4 separate regions of the Homo sapiens genome follow, and all the other regions are linked to region 2. The links are contacts of gene promoters, found by promoter capture Hi-C in blood cells and fetal thymus (Javierre and others, 2016). All regions are on one chromosome and are shown on one strand. Each heading gives the region's core, a stretch centred on a gene start or on the middle of the fragment in contact. The rest is flanking DNA. Distances are from core to core; before and after follow the strand shown.

Evidence for each region. The method cuts DNA at HindIII sites, captures the fragments that hold promoters and counts their contacts. A CHiCAGO score of 5 or more calls a contact.
Region 1: a fragment that was not itself captured here is called in contact with the fragment with the promoter of CTSO in region 2 in 7 of 17 cell types (naive CD8 T cells, monocytes, non-activated CD4 T cells and 4 more); the score reaches 10.0 in naive CD8 T cells.
Region 3: a contact is called between a fragment that was not itself captured here and the fragment with the promoter of CTSO in region 2, in 1 of 17 cell types (monocytes). The highest score is 5.4, in monocytes.
Region 4: a contact is called between a fragment that was not itself captured here and the fragment with the promoter of CTSO in region 2, in 1 of 17 cell types (monocytes). The highest score is 5.9, in monocytes.

What each region holds. Positions count from the first base shown.
Region 1 is chr4:157,972,108-157,975,429 of GRCh38, reverse strand. The region is part of intron 2 of LOC105377509 (a long non-coding RNA gene); the gene reads left to right. Among named protein-coding and RNA genes, the nearest start is that of GASK1B-AS1, 200 kb to the left of the region's middle. The HindIII fragment of the contact is 784 bases long and covers 891-1,674 here.
Region 2 is chr4:155,952,548-155,955,847 of GRCh38, reverse strand. CTSO (cathepsin O) reads left to right here and starts at 1,982. Exons shown (of 8, transcript NM_001334.3): 1 at 1,982-2,135. The coding sequence starts at 2,001. RefSeq lists an enhancer at 577-871. The HindIII fragment of the contact is 8,738 bases long and covers 1-3,300 here.
Region 3 is chr4:158,182,955-158,186,576 of GRCh38, reverse strand. The region is part of intron 2 of GASK1B-AS1 (GASK1B antisense RNA 1); the gene reads right to left. It also overlaps the pseudogene NUDT19P5. Among named protein-coding and RNA genes, the nearest start is that of GASK1B, 12 kb to the right of the region's middle. The HindIII fragment of the contact is 5,491 bases long and covers 1-3,622 here.
Region 4 is chr4:157,997,268-158,000,571 of GRCh38, reverse strand. All of the region lies in intron 1 of LOC105377509 (a long non-coding RNA gene), which reads left to right. Among named protein-coding and RNA genes, the nearest start is that of GASK1B-AS1, 170 kb to the left of the region's middle. The HindIII fragment of the contact is 3,681 bases long and covers 1-3,304 here.

The sequences.
Region 1 (3,322 bases), core at 33-2,532, 2.0 Mb before region 2:
TTGTTCCATGAATATGTTACATAAAATTAAGTGTTTGGAAGACAGTTTTTTCTTAAGAGTTATTTTTATTTCTCAAAAAGACAGGTTTTTTTTTTTTTTTTTTTTTTTTTTAGCTGTTTGGAAGCTCGGAGACATATTTGTATTGCAGCCGTAAAAACTATATAGGCATTGCAACAATTGCTTTTACCTGTTCTCTATCCTGGCCTTCTGCTATTTTATTTTATGTGTCTCTTGATTTAATTCTTTTTTTTAACAAGTATATTTTCCAAGCTTCATCAGATGGATATACAGTTGGGGTGCAAATGATGAAACAACACACAGCTCCATCCACCAATTTTTAAAACTCTAGCTAGCATTCAAGATCTGATTGAGGGTTAAAGGGTGGGGAGGACACCCTTCAGGTGATGCAAGACATGATTTTTAAATTTTCTTTAGCTCTCGGAGCTCTTGATTTCATAGGTCATCAAGAAGTCTCACAGTCGTGAAATCTTTTACTTCCTAAATATTTTAATCATCAAGGTTTGCAGCAGAGACAGGAAGAGGAAATGGGCCTCAAAGTCTTATTTTTTTTCATGGAGATATATTTGTCTCTTAAGAATATCTCTTCAACCTCAGAACTTCCTTGATGATTTCTGTTAGGAAAATAAAATCTTAACTTCCATGTTATTACTCATCTTCTACTGCTAACCTTGGAGACTCTAGATGTGATTTTATGAAGGTTTTCTATTGTCAGTGAATCTGAGTACCAGGTAACGTGGCATGGATGCCTCAGTGGTGCCATTTGCTGTTTGCAAGCTCTAGAGTGACATCTCCTGCAGCACCCACACCACCACTATATCTTTTCAATTGACTGCTTTTCCAGGTGCTGAGACCAAGCCTTTGCAGAAGCTTGGTTCAATGAAACATGTGCCAGTGAAACAAGCTACCATGGCCCATCATCATGGCACTGATATTTACCTAGGCAATAGCCTTCTCTTTTCCCATTTCCCCATAGTTTAAATATTTAATAACATATTGACTGATCTGCTGTTATTATTACATGCCAGACACTGATATCTTTAGTGACTTATTCTCACTGTTCCATTATAATTGTGAATAGCTCACACATACCTACACACAGAGTCCTTGTACTTATGGCACTTACATTGAAGGGGAGACACAAAATTTGGCAGATAAATAACTGTTGTAATCCTGGGTTTTGAAAAGTTACAGGTGCAGTAATAGAGAATAATTGGAAGGGTAGATAGGTAATCCAGGAAGATTTCTACAAAGATTTAGTGAGCACATTCAATCTCAGAAGCTGCCCAATGCACATATTTCTACTTTATCATTATTTGTTGGTGTAACTGCTCTGAAATCAATCCAAACTTTTATGAAAGTAGCAGGATAGAAATAATGAGTAGCAGAAATTGCTAGCTAGCAAACTAGTAATATAGATATAGATGAGTATGAGGTTTGGGACCATAAAAAGAAACATAATTGGTAAACTAGTTTCTACTTCAGTGTAGATAATTTCAATTATATGACCAGCAGGTGTCTGATATTAAAGTCCTGCAAATCTTATATCTAAAGTTGTTTACTCATAGTAAATCTTCTGGCGCTTCACTGATCTATACAAAGAGAAAGGAATTGAGCTAAGCTATAGAATGTTGCAAGAGGGAATTTGTGCAAGCTTATTCCAAATTCTGATAAATATGCCTTGAACATTGTAAAGATTTCTGATGACGAACATATATTGAATCAGCTTTAGGATCATTAGGCAGAGAAAACACTGGATTGCTGTTGCTACAGTGCAGTGATTTACCAGCTTTCTTCATGCTCAATTAGAAGTTTCTAGAGCACAGAAGTTATCAAGTCTTCCACAGAGGCTGAAAAGGAGAGCAAAGAACACAGAGTCAAACTCCTATCTTGTTTGGCTAAGTAATTAATTTTAACTGCATTGCAATCTGAAGTCTGTTGTAAAAAGACCGAAGAAGTCAGAGAGAAGCAGTAAAATAGTATGAACTAGGTAGAAGGTAGGATTCCAATGACACACTGGAGGCCAGCTGCAAGGAATATAATTTAAGAAGTCTCGGCCAGGCGGGGTGGCTCACGCCCGTAATCCCAGCACTTTGGGAGGCTAAGGTGGGCAGATCACCTGAGGTCAGGAGTTCGAGACCAGCCTGACCAACATGGAGAAATCCCGTCTCTACTAAAAATACAAAATTAGGTGGGCGTGGTGGCACATGCCTGTGATCCCAGCTACTGGGGAGGCTGAGGCAGGAGAATCGCTTAAACCTGGAAGGTGGAGGTCGCAGTGAGCCGAGATTGCGCCATTGCACTCCAGCCTGGGCGACAAGAGTGAAACTCCATCTCAAAAAAAAAAAAAAAACAAAAACAAAAACAAAAGACCAAAACCAAAAACCAAAAACAAAAAACTAACTTTTGGAAAAAGTATTACAGAAGCAGACAACATAACCATTTTTTCAGAAGTATAGTATGTATAATGAACAGTATTAGATAATAAAATAACTAACCTCCTGCAGATTTAACAACATGCATGCTTCAATTATGCTGCATTGCAAAAAAGAGTTTCCAGTGGTAATATTAGGACTCAAAGACTGTATTAATTATCAAAGAAATATAATTATTTTTATAGACCAATATCTTTATTTAAAAGAAGCTGAAAACACTTTCTTATTTACATTAATGAAAGTCTGTGAAAGTAGAGGGAAAAGAAGCATGCCGTTAATTTTAGTTCATGTTCCTTTATATTTTGCTCTTCTGTCCTCTGACTACCAGCCTTTAATCTCCTTTTTACCCAGATATTCAAGGGTCTTATTGGAACATCTGGAAAATAGCTTATTTATAAACATGATTTTAAGAATTATAATCTTCTATAAGATATAGCTTTACAAATGGAATTAAAAAACAGAAAAGGAGTGACATTACTGTGATTTATAAAAATAAATTGATAAAATAATTGATAATACTTTCTGGATTGATAGAAAAAAAAGAGAAGGGTAAATTATTCACTTTTTATTCACCCCAACATATTTCCTAATGCGTTAATATAACCACAAAGCAAGGCTGGTCACGAGTAAAATTATGAAATAAGTAAAATATATGGGCATTTTTCCAATTAGTTTCTTATTGCTGTATAACAAATTACCACTCATTGGCTAAAAGCAACACAAATTCATTCTCATAATTTCTGAGGGTTAGGAATCTGGGAATGGGTTAACCGAACGCTCTGTTCAGGGTCTTTCACAAAGCTGTGATCAAGTGTTGGCCAGTGTTGGAGTCTCATCTGAAGGCTTGACTGGGGACAAATTAATTTTCA
Region 2 (3,300 bases), core at 733-3,232:
TCACACCTGACTTCATGTGGTGGGTCATAGTCAAAATGCATTCAAAGCCTTGTTTTATGCATAAAATTACCTAAAATAGTCAGTAAGATTACCTTCAGTCAGTAGCATAAGTGAAACACAAATGAATTTTGTGTTTAGACTTGGGTCTCATCCCCAAGAGATCTCATTATGTATATGCAAATATTCCAAAATCTGGGGGGAAAAAATCTGAAATCTGAAACACTTCCAGACCCAGGCATTGTGGATAAGGGATCCTCAACCTGTAGTAATTTTATTGCGTCTCTCCCCCTCACTGAAATACCAGCTTCAACAGGGTGGGGCTTTTCATCTCTTCAGTCACTTATGCACTTCCATCCATGATGTGTCCTGATGACCTAGAACAATGCCTGACACTTAGGAAGTACTCAATAAAATATTTGTTGATGTAAATCAATTGAAATATCAGTCCCATAGGGATGGGGATTTTCATCCCTTTAGTCACTTATCCACTTACTTGATATATCCTCATTACCTAGAAGAATGCCTGACACTTAGCAGGTACTCAATAAATACTTGATGTGAGCTCCTGAAATGAGTTTAGTTCAAGGGGCTTTTTTACAATACCAATTATCCTAAAGTAAAGATGACTGCCTATATTTAAATTTCCTGACTCCGTAGGTTGTCAATAAACAGGGACTATGATCTGAAAGCAAAGTTCAGTTTAAAAAGAAAAGTATGTGCTTGTATGAGTCACAAAAAAGGGCTAAGTACAAAAGAACTGCTGAGGTAAACATGAACATCGTTCTGTGAACTTATGATTTAAATAAAATCTTTATCACCACACTTGCCAAGAGCAATATATCTTATCATGAACGTACATAAAAAACTCTTGTGTCTTTCCTCTTAATACTCGGAACATTATTTTTATTTTTATTACGAAGTTTGCATTGGAGAATATTGTAACTCACTGCACCTAGGTAAAAACTAAAGACATAAATCTGATGTTAGTTCTAAAAATCTACAAGGGTAATGATATGAATTTCACAGACATGGAAGCCTTGTTCAGAATAGATGATAATAGAAAGGCTCGGTAGAGCCAGGTTCATGAGTGTGTGACCTGTGCAGAAGTGGGTGCTTAGAAGGCCCATGGCTTGGGTTAATGCTCTGCTGTTGCCGTCTTGAAATTCTTCACAATTTATGAACAAGGGAACTTCATTTTCAGTTTACACGGAACCCTGCAAATTATGTACTTGGCTCTATCTTCCTTTGCAAACGGAGAAACAGGCTTCAAGAGTTTTGAAACTGCCATAATAGATCCAAAAACTGTGTATGCTTTTCACATCTGTACAATTTTGTTACGTATTTATAAACATCTGCTGAATGGATGACTCTATGTATTGGCCCACATCACTTCAGAACTAGGTCTTGAACTTAGGGATTGTGGCAAGAAGGAAAAAGGCAGCTTCCGGTGGCTCACAGGGCAGGCCAGGTGGCTCACACCTGTGAGCATTTTGGGAGGCCAAGGCGGGTGGATCACTAGAGTCCAGGAGTTCGAGACCGGCCTGGGCAATATGGCAAGATCCTATCTCTACTAAAAATACAAAAATAGCCTGGGGTGGTGGCACGCGCCTGTAGTCCCAGGTACTCCGGAGGCTGAGGCAGGAGGCACTTGAACCTGAAGGTCGAGGCTGCAGTGAGACCTGATCTCAACACACACAAAAGAATGACTCTCAGGCTTCTTTTTTTCTAATGGATGGAAGTGAAACCTCGAAAGCACATGGTCAAGTGCCTGACTCTTCCAAAACAAAAACAAAAACAAAAAAACTAGCCTCAGCAAGGAGGTCCGTAGCCTCCAGCTGACCGGATTTTCAGTCACAGAACACCGGGGACCTAAAAAAGGGTCAATCTCAGCATCGTGCACTCAACCCAGCTCCTTCCGCCCCTCGAGCCCAGGCTGGGAGGAGCCGAGGAACCGAAAGAGAAAACAGGCCGCGCGGGCGGCAGAGGAGCCGGGCGCCGCAATGGACGTGCGGGCGCTGCCGTGGCTGCCGTGGCTGCTGTGGCTGCTGTGCCGGGGCGGCGGCGATGCGGACTCCCGCGCCCCCTTCACCCCGACCTGGCCGCGGAGCCGCGAGCGTGAAGCCGCCGCCTTCCGGGTACCGAGCGCGCGCCTCCCCGGGATCTGTCCCTGCTCCCTCACTTCCTGTCCCGGGTCTGGGCTGCGGAAGAGGGCCCCCGAGAGCTGACCCTGCTCGTGGGCACCCGTGGCTCTGCGATGCGTCTGGGGCCCTGAGCTGCGGGTGCAAAAGCCAGCTTCTCTCTCCCCTCTCCTTGTGCCATGGTGTCACTCCCCCATGCCTTTGCTAACCAAAAGACTTGATTTTCCAGAAGAGATTTGTCGCTATGGATTTTTGGGACGCACCCAAATAAATCCATAGATACGTCCAAAGTGTCCTTGGTGGGAAGAAGCACCCCCTTTTAGCAATCCCCTCTATCGTTGCCACTGGCTTCCAAAGCTCTTCTATTTCTCTTTTATGAGAACCAGAAACAGGGAGCAGCCTGTTGGTGGAAGAAACCTGTCGTGTTTTTTTTTCCCGAGGAGGGCGCTAGTGATCAGAAGTTAGAAACAAAGAGCCTGTCTTTAGCCAGATTAAAGAATCCTGATGGTTTATGATTCTCCTTAAACTAACGCACCACTTTAAAAGTTCTTCCTGCCTTGGCGGAGACTGAGTTGAAGAAAAGAGAAGCATTTAATTTCCTTTTCATATTATTATACGAAATATAATATAATTTATATTTTATAATATTTATAATAAATACTTAGATTTGAGTCTAGCATGAAAACTCTGGAAGGGACCAGTTAGCTGAGCACAAATAATGATTTTCCTGAAACCAAGGAAACTGCAAGGGATGCCGATTTAGTGTTCGCCTCACTATGTTCTAGATAGCTGATACTATTTAACACATTTTTAAATTCATGAAAGATGCCATTATCATGATTTAATTTATTGGAAAAGAAAATTCTTTCATTCTGAATCAAACATAAGTCTGAGTTGAGTAATATTGCTCAAGGAAGTGTATCTTTTTTCCTGGTGTTTGTTGGAATTTCTCACAGGATTTCATAGCTGTGCTCTTTTCCCCCGACTCTCCTGGAAAGCTCCAATGTTTAGGAAGGCCAGCCTTCCCTGATTCTGTCCACTCTTACGTTTTGTCCAAACCGAGATGTGTACTGTTATCTCCACTTTATTATTCTTGAGTTCAGTTCTAGCTTTCAAAACCAGAAGTCCTCTTACTCTTTCAAGAACAAAATTCTGGCCTGTA
Region 3 (3,622 bases), core at 69-2,568, 2.2 Mb before region 2:
TTCTCAATGTAAAAGTCCTGGAAGAAGGCTAATATTCCCACCTTGAGTAAAGTTCTCAACTGTGGGCCAATTGCTGTCCTAACAAGGAGATATACTGTTTTTGCCATAGCTTAGCCATGTATTCATTCTTACATCCAGGACAGTGATGGGGTCTATTACTAGAAGAAATGAGGAAAAAATGTTAGGTAGACAAAAGGTATAAGTTTGCTATCAAATCATAGTTGCTTTCTCCATTCTCTCCTGTACTCCTCCACTCCCCTTTCACATAATACAGAGAATTGGATTAGAAATTGTATGGATTGGTCGGGTGCGGTGGCTCACGTCTGTAATGCCAGCACTTTGGGAGGCCGAGGCGAGCAGATCACCTGAGGTCAGGAGTTCCAGACCAGCCTGCTTAACATGACGAAACTCTGTCTCTACTAAAAATACAAAAAATTAGTGGGGTGAGGTGGCAGGCACCTGTAATCCCAGCTACTCAGGAGGCTGAGGCAGGAGAATTGGTTGAACCCAGGAGGTGGAGGTTGCAGTGAGCCAAGATCATGCCACTGCACTCCAGCCTGGATGACAAGAGCAAAACTCTGTCTCAAAACAAAACAAAACAAACAAACAAACAAAATTGTATGGATCACCCAACAAATAATAGCTAAAGCTAAAAATGAAGGTGAAAGAACAGTAGTTTTTGCTTTCAGTTGCAGTGCTCAAATGCCATCTAAAAAAAAAAAATACATGTGGAAAACACTCCGCACTTGAAAGCTCAGAGACCTGAATTTTAGTCCCTCATCTGCCTCTAACATGTGACCTTGAACAAGTGACTAACATTACTCTTTCTCACTATCAATATGCCTGACATTATGAAAGTCAACAAGAAAGATTTAAAAAGTAGTTTAGGAAAATCTATATTTAAAATGATAGAATGCTCTATATCTTCTGAGAAAGCTGTTGATTTAATTTAAGAAAATTAAATAGGAGAGAAAGTCTTGTATAGTGAAAATATCACTTAATTTGAATTTAAGAGTTCTGATTCTGTCTGACTCTCAAGTTATTTACTGGTAGGCCCCTCAAGCTGCTGCTTCTATAAAATCAGTGGGTTATATTTAGTTTATCTCTTAGGTCTCTTCCAGTTCTAATATTCCATAAAAATACAATGAAACCTCAATTATCCAAACCTTATATTGCTTGCTTCTTATAAAATGGAAATGTGTTTATCCTTCTGGAGGTTTGTAGCATTTCTTAAATCTGAAAAATTCTTGGCTACTTTCTCTTCAAATATTGTTTTAGTCCCATTTTCTTCTCCTTTCTTTCTGTACCTTGAGTAAACCTTTTAATTATATCTGATAAGTTTCTCATGCCCTTTCTGGATTCTCCATCCTCTTAACTGTCCGTGTGTCCGTTTGGGTATTTTCTTCTGACCTACCTTTTAGTTTATAAATTCTCTTTTCAATTGTATATATTTTGTTTTTTTAATACGTGAACTATGAGGTGCTTATTGATAATTTCCTTGTACATATCTTGTATTGAATTCAGTGATCTTACTTAATCTTTGGGTTGATAAGTTTTTTGAGTTTGAAAATTCTATCATCATCTTTTAAAATATTGTTCTGCCACCATGTCTTTCTCTTTTCTTTGGGTCATCTAGTTACACCTATGTTTGATTTTTTAACTGTGTCCAATACATATCTTAAACACTTGGTTTTAATTTTTTTCTATTTATTTTTCTAACACTTTGCCTTTATATTTAATATTTTCTAGGGACCTGTTTTTAATTTCATAAACCTCGTGTTCTGCTTTGTTCTATCTGCCTTTAAAACCAAATAAATTTTTTTAAATTTCAGATTTCTAAAAAATTTCAGACTAAGAATGTCCACTTAATTTTTTTTTTTTTTTTTTTTTTTTTTGAGACAGAGTCTCACTCTCTCACCCAGGCTGGAGTACAGTGGCATGATCTCGGTTCACTGCAACCTCCACTTCCTGGGTTCAAGCGATTCTCCTGCCTCAGCCTCCTGAGTAGCTTGGATTACAGGAGCGCACCACCATGCCTGGCTAATTTTTGTATTTTTAGTAGAAATGGGGTTTCACCACGTTGGTCAGGCTGATCTCAAACTCCTGACCTTGTGATCCACCTGCCTCGGCCTCCCAAAGTGCTGAGATTACAGGCATGAGCCACTGTGCCTGGTCCCACTGATTTTTTATAGCTTCTAATTTTCTGTTGAAATTCTCCCACTCCTTATCTTTTGCTTTACTTTCTTTTATCGATCAATCTAAGTATTTTAAAGTCTGAGTATCCTGTAGAACTCTCTCTAAGTCATTATCTCTATCTTACCAGTAGGGAAACTAAAAAATTTCATGAAGAATAAAATCCATTGTACAATGCGTAATATAGTCAAAGATCTTGAAAAAGAATTGGTGTCTAAACCATTATTTTTCACTTTTAATCAATAAACATTATTCCTCTTTAGAGGAGGTAAAAAAACCCATATAAAATATACTGAAAATAAATTTCATTAAACATTAAATGATGAATAGTTCTAAATCTATCTTCTTTGCATTCATTAACTAGCACTTCAGAGCAAAAATAATGGTAGCTTTTGTTATGGCTTCATATTTCTTTAAAATATTGACTTAAAATAGATTTTCAATCTGGGGAATAGATAAGAACTAATGCCATTTGGTTTTAAATAGAATTGTGTTGTAATCCTCAAGCTAAAGGCATAGCAAAAAAAAAAAAAATGACAACATCACTGGAAATTTGCCTCAGTCTACTTACTGTTCACCATTTAATTAGACACTTTTTAATTCTGGCAGAAAGTCTAAGGAATTCATGGATCCACCTTCTAAGCACATCAAGGAGTGTTAATACACTGGACAGTTAGAACAATGGCAGCAGAACATCTTATTTAAACTCTTGACATAATAAAATAATTTTTTCTTGTTTTGGTAATAATATCATTAATACTTTACAGTTGTGGCATACTACAATGTTAAAGATTCAATTAAGCAAGAGAGCACCATAATACACTTTAAATAAGACTGCTATAACTTTCACAGGCACGGTTTCAAACAAGACTAGTCAACCCTCATTATTCATTAGGACTACTTCATATAAGTCAGCTTACCAATAAGTAGCATTTTACAAAAGCCTCTTATCTACTGACTTACCATATAGGTCTTAGGAAAAATGTTTTATTTTTGAATAGTTATATGGATACTATAAAGATGGTGACTGTTTATCACTATGTTGTGAAATTTCTTGCCTTCCTTCAATTTTTTTTTTAAGTGGAGAAATGATTTTCTAAAAAGTCTGAGTCTTCTAAGCATAGCTCATCTCCTGGTAAAAATTGCAGTGCTCCATTAGTTAATAATGCCATCGCAAGCCGTCCTTTTCTCTCTTCTAATGTACCATACAAACAAAATTTGTGCAAGTCAAAGAGCAGGGCAAAGTTTTCATACTTCATAGAGCTTTAAGTAAGTTTATTTCATAGAACTGTGGGAGTGCCAGCCAAAGAGCTTCCAGTATGAAACTTTCAGTTGCCTTTATGGAGATGGCCACTGGCAGCCTACCACCTTGGTCATGCTCCCGTGGGCAGGCAGGGAGAAGGCAGCTTGCGCAGACAGCACAGAAAAA
Region 4 (3,304 bases), core at 332-2,831, 2.0 Mb before region 2:
CCTGTTCTCCAACAAGGCCAAGTCCTCCACCGAAGATTGGTCACTTTCACACAAAAGAAATCTAACAACTTTCTTCATTCTGCTTGTTAAAATGGAAGCGCCCCTGCGCTAATCACAGGTGAACCTTTCTGTTCACCTGAATTTTATTCCTTGGGGCTTCTGAAGACTTCTTTACCTGCCTCCATTTGAATCACATCTCTCTCTCTCAGATTGGTTCAATCTGACTGATGCGTAGTCAGACTCTCAGGGTGTCTTCGAACTTTTTCTCTATAAAGAGCAACGGACAGTCCCAACAAAAATAACAAAATTTTGATCACGCATTAATTTCTCTGCATCCTTCTCAGCAACAGGACATATAATTGTCCTCACTCGTCGCCTTCATTTTATTCCTTTGCATTCACTTTTTGTCCTACTTAAATAATTTTAATGTAGTTTTTTGAGAAGGCAATATATGACTGTCTTAAAAAATTTGAGCAGTACAGAATGTTAGCACCCTTCTATCATCAATCCCCAATACTAAGATTTCTCCAAGTTGAAGTGATTTTTTTTTGCATAGATTAAAGTATGCTTTGCTTTTCCACTTATCAAGGAGATCTTTCATGAAGTGTACACAGGTATGTCTCATTCCTTTTAACCACTTCTGGGCTTGCTGTCACATAAATGTATTTACACAGTTCCCTACAATGAAGATTTATAATGCTTGCAATCTCTTGCTAACACAGAAAATACGGCTGGGAAAATCTTTGTAATTATATTTTTATGCCATGTATTTATGGGATACACTCTTAAAAGTGGGATTATTGAATCCAAAGGATATGTTTATTTATAATTTTGGTAAATGTTGGAAAATTGCCTTCCAGATGTTTTACTAACTTAAATTTATACCAGTACTGTATAAGAGTGCTTGATTCTCCACACCTTCACTAATACAGTGTAGTAAGAGAATTTTGCTTTTTGCCAAATGCAGTATTTGAAAACTTGATATCCAAATGCAATTATAATTTACATTCATTTTATTATGACTGAGGCTGATCATATTTTCAAATTTTAAAAGGCTTTGCGTTTCTTTTTATTTCTGAATTCATGTCTTTGCCCATTTTTTTTACATTGGTTTGTTTATAATTTTCTCATTAGTTTGTATGGGCAATGTATATATATATGTTAAGAAAATAAACATTTCAGCAGCTGGATTACTAAAATATTTAAGCTAGTAAGTTTGTAAATTTTTTTCTTTTTCTTAAATTTATTAAGTTTAAAACTTAATTTTGATGGACTCAAATTTATACATTTTTAAATAGTTTTGCACCATGTTTTGAAAGTTTTTACATCATGCTTATAAATACCTTACACTATCAAGTATATGAGAAGGTTTGCCAATGTTTTTCTTTCATTTCCTTTCAATTTTATAGTTCGGTTTTTACACTTTGAAAACATTGGTCCTTCTGAAATGTATTTAAGAAGCAAGAGAGAGAATCTAGCTCATTCGTTTTCCCTAGATGCTACCCAATTATTCCAGAATTATTTGATCCACACACCTCCCCCTGTCTGCCTCTCAATACCCATGGATTTAGAATGCCACTTTCACCAGTAACTAACAACCCATATATATTTAAGACTATATCTGACTTTTTGGTTATATTGACTATTTGTGGCCAGTGCTAGTATTTCCTATTGTTTTAGAACATTTTTTTTTCTTGTATAGCTAGCCTTTGCTTATTATTCTTCTGCTTCATATTTTCTTGGATATTATTACACGTTTATTTTTTCTTTGTAGACTTTAGAATCAATTCATAACATTCCTAATCATGAGAGAAATACAAATCAAAACCACAATGATATACCATCTCACACCAGTCAGAATGGTTATTATTAAAAGTTAAAAATCAACAGATACTGACTAGGATGTGGAGAAAAGTGAATGCTTATTCACTGTTGGTGGAAAGATAAATTAGTTCAGCCCCTTTGGAAAGCAGTTTGGAGATTTATCAAAGAACTAAAAATAAGACCACCATTCAACTCAGCAATTCCCTTACTGGGTATCTACCTGAAGGAAAAGAAATTGTTTTACCAAAAAGACACCAGCGCTCGTATGTTCACCACAGCACTACTCACAATAGCAAAATCATGGAACATCCTAGGTGCCTATCAACAGTGGACTGGATAAAGAAATTGTGGTACACATACATAATAGAATACTATGCAGCCATTAAAAAAATAAAATTATGTCCTTTGCAGCAACATGGCTGCAGCTACAGGCCATTATCCTAAGTGAATTTGAGCAGGAACAGATAATCAAATACCACATGTTTTCACTTATAAGTGGGAGCTAAACACCGGGTACATGCGGACACAAAGATGGAAATAATAGACACTGGGGACTCCAAAAGGAGGGAGGGAGGGAAGGTGGCAAGGATTGAAAATTACCTATTGGGTATTGTGTTCTCTGTTTGGGTAACGGGTTCAGTAGGAGCCCAACCTCCAGTATCATGTAACATATCCATGTAACAAACCCATACGTATATCCCCTGAAATTAAAATAAAAATAACAACAACAACAACAACAACAACAAAGTTTTATGAAAAACTCTGGAATAAATTCATTTGTATTGAGTTAAATGAATAAATTATCTTAGGGTAATAGATATATTTATAATGAGTCATTTCATCAAAGCACAATAAAAAATTTAAACTGTTTACTCTTTTAAAACTTAGGTAGTTTTATTATTATTTTATGAGTCTAGACTTCCTGGAGTTCTTATTAGATTTATTTGTAATTTAATGCTACCCAGAGTTTTAAAAAATTACATTTTTTAGCTGCTTATTGTTGCAGTCACTCAAGAGTAGCTCTTGTCACCCCAAGTCCACTGAAATGTTTGTTGTTAAGGGGACCAGTGATTTTTCTTTTGCAGAACCCAGTGACCTCTTCTGTATTCTTCCTTATTTTGATTTGGAGCAGCATTTGACCCTACACTCAATCTATCTTCCTTGAGAATCTTTCCTCCTGTGGTTTCTTGGGCACTGTATCCTCCTGATTTATTTGTTTTTTTACCTAATTCACCAGGGACTTTTCCTCTACCTACTTTGCTGTCCCTTCCTCCTTATCTAACTTAAATATTGAAATGCCTTTGGGTCCTTTTGTCTTCTCTAGCTACAGTCTCCCTAGGTGATGCCTTTCAGCTTGCTACATATTAACTTACATGTTCTATTTCATGAGATAATCATGAGAGACTTTCAGATATTTAAAACTAACCTCCCACTAGCGGTTCATATAGCCCTGGATGAAAAGTTGTTTATCACCCTTCAA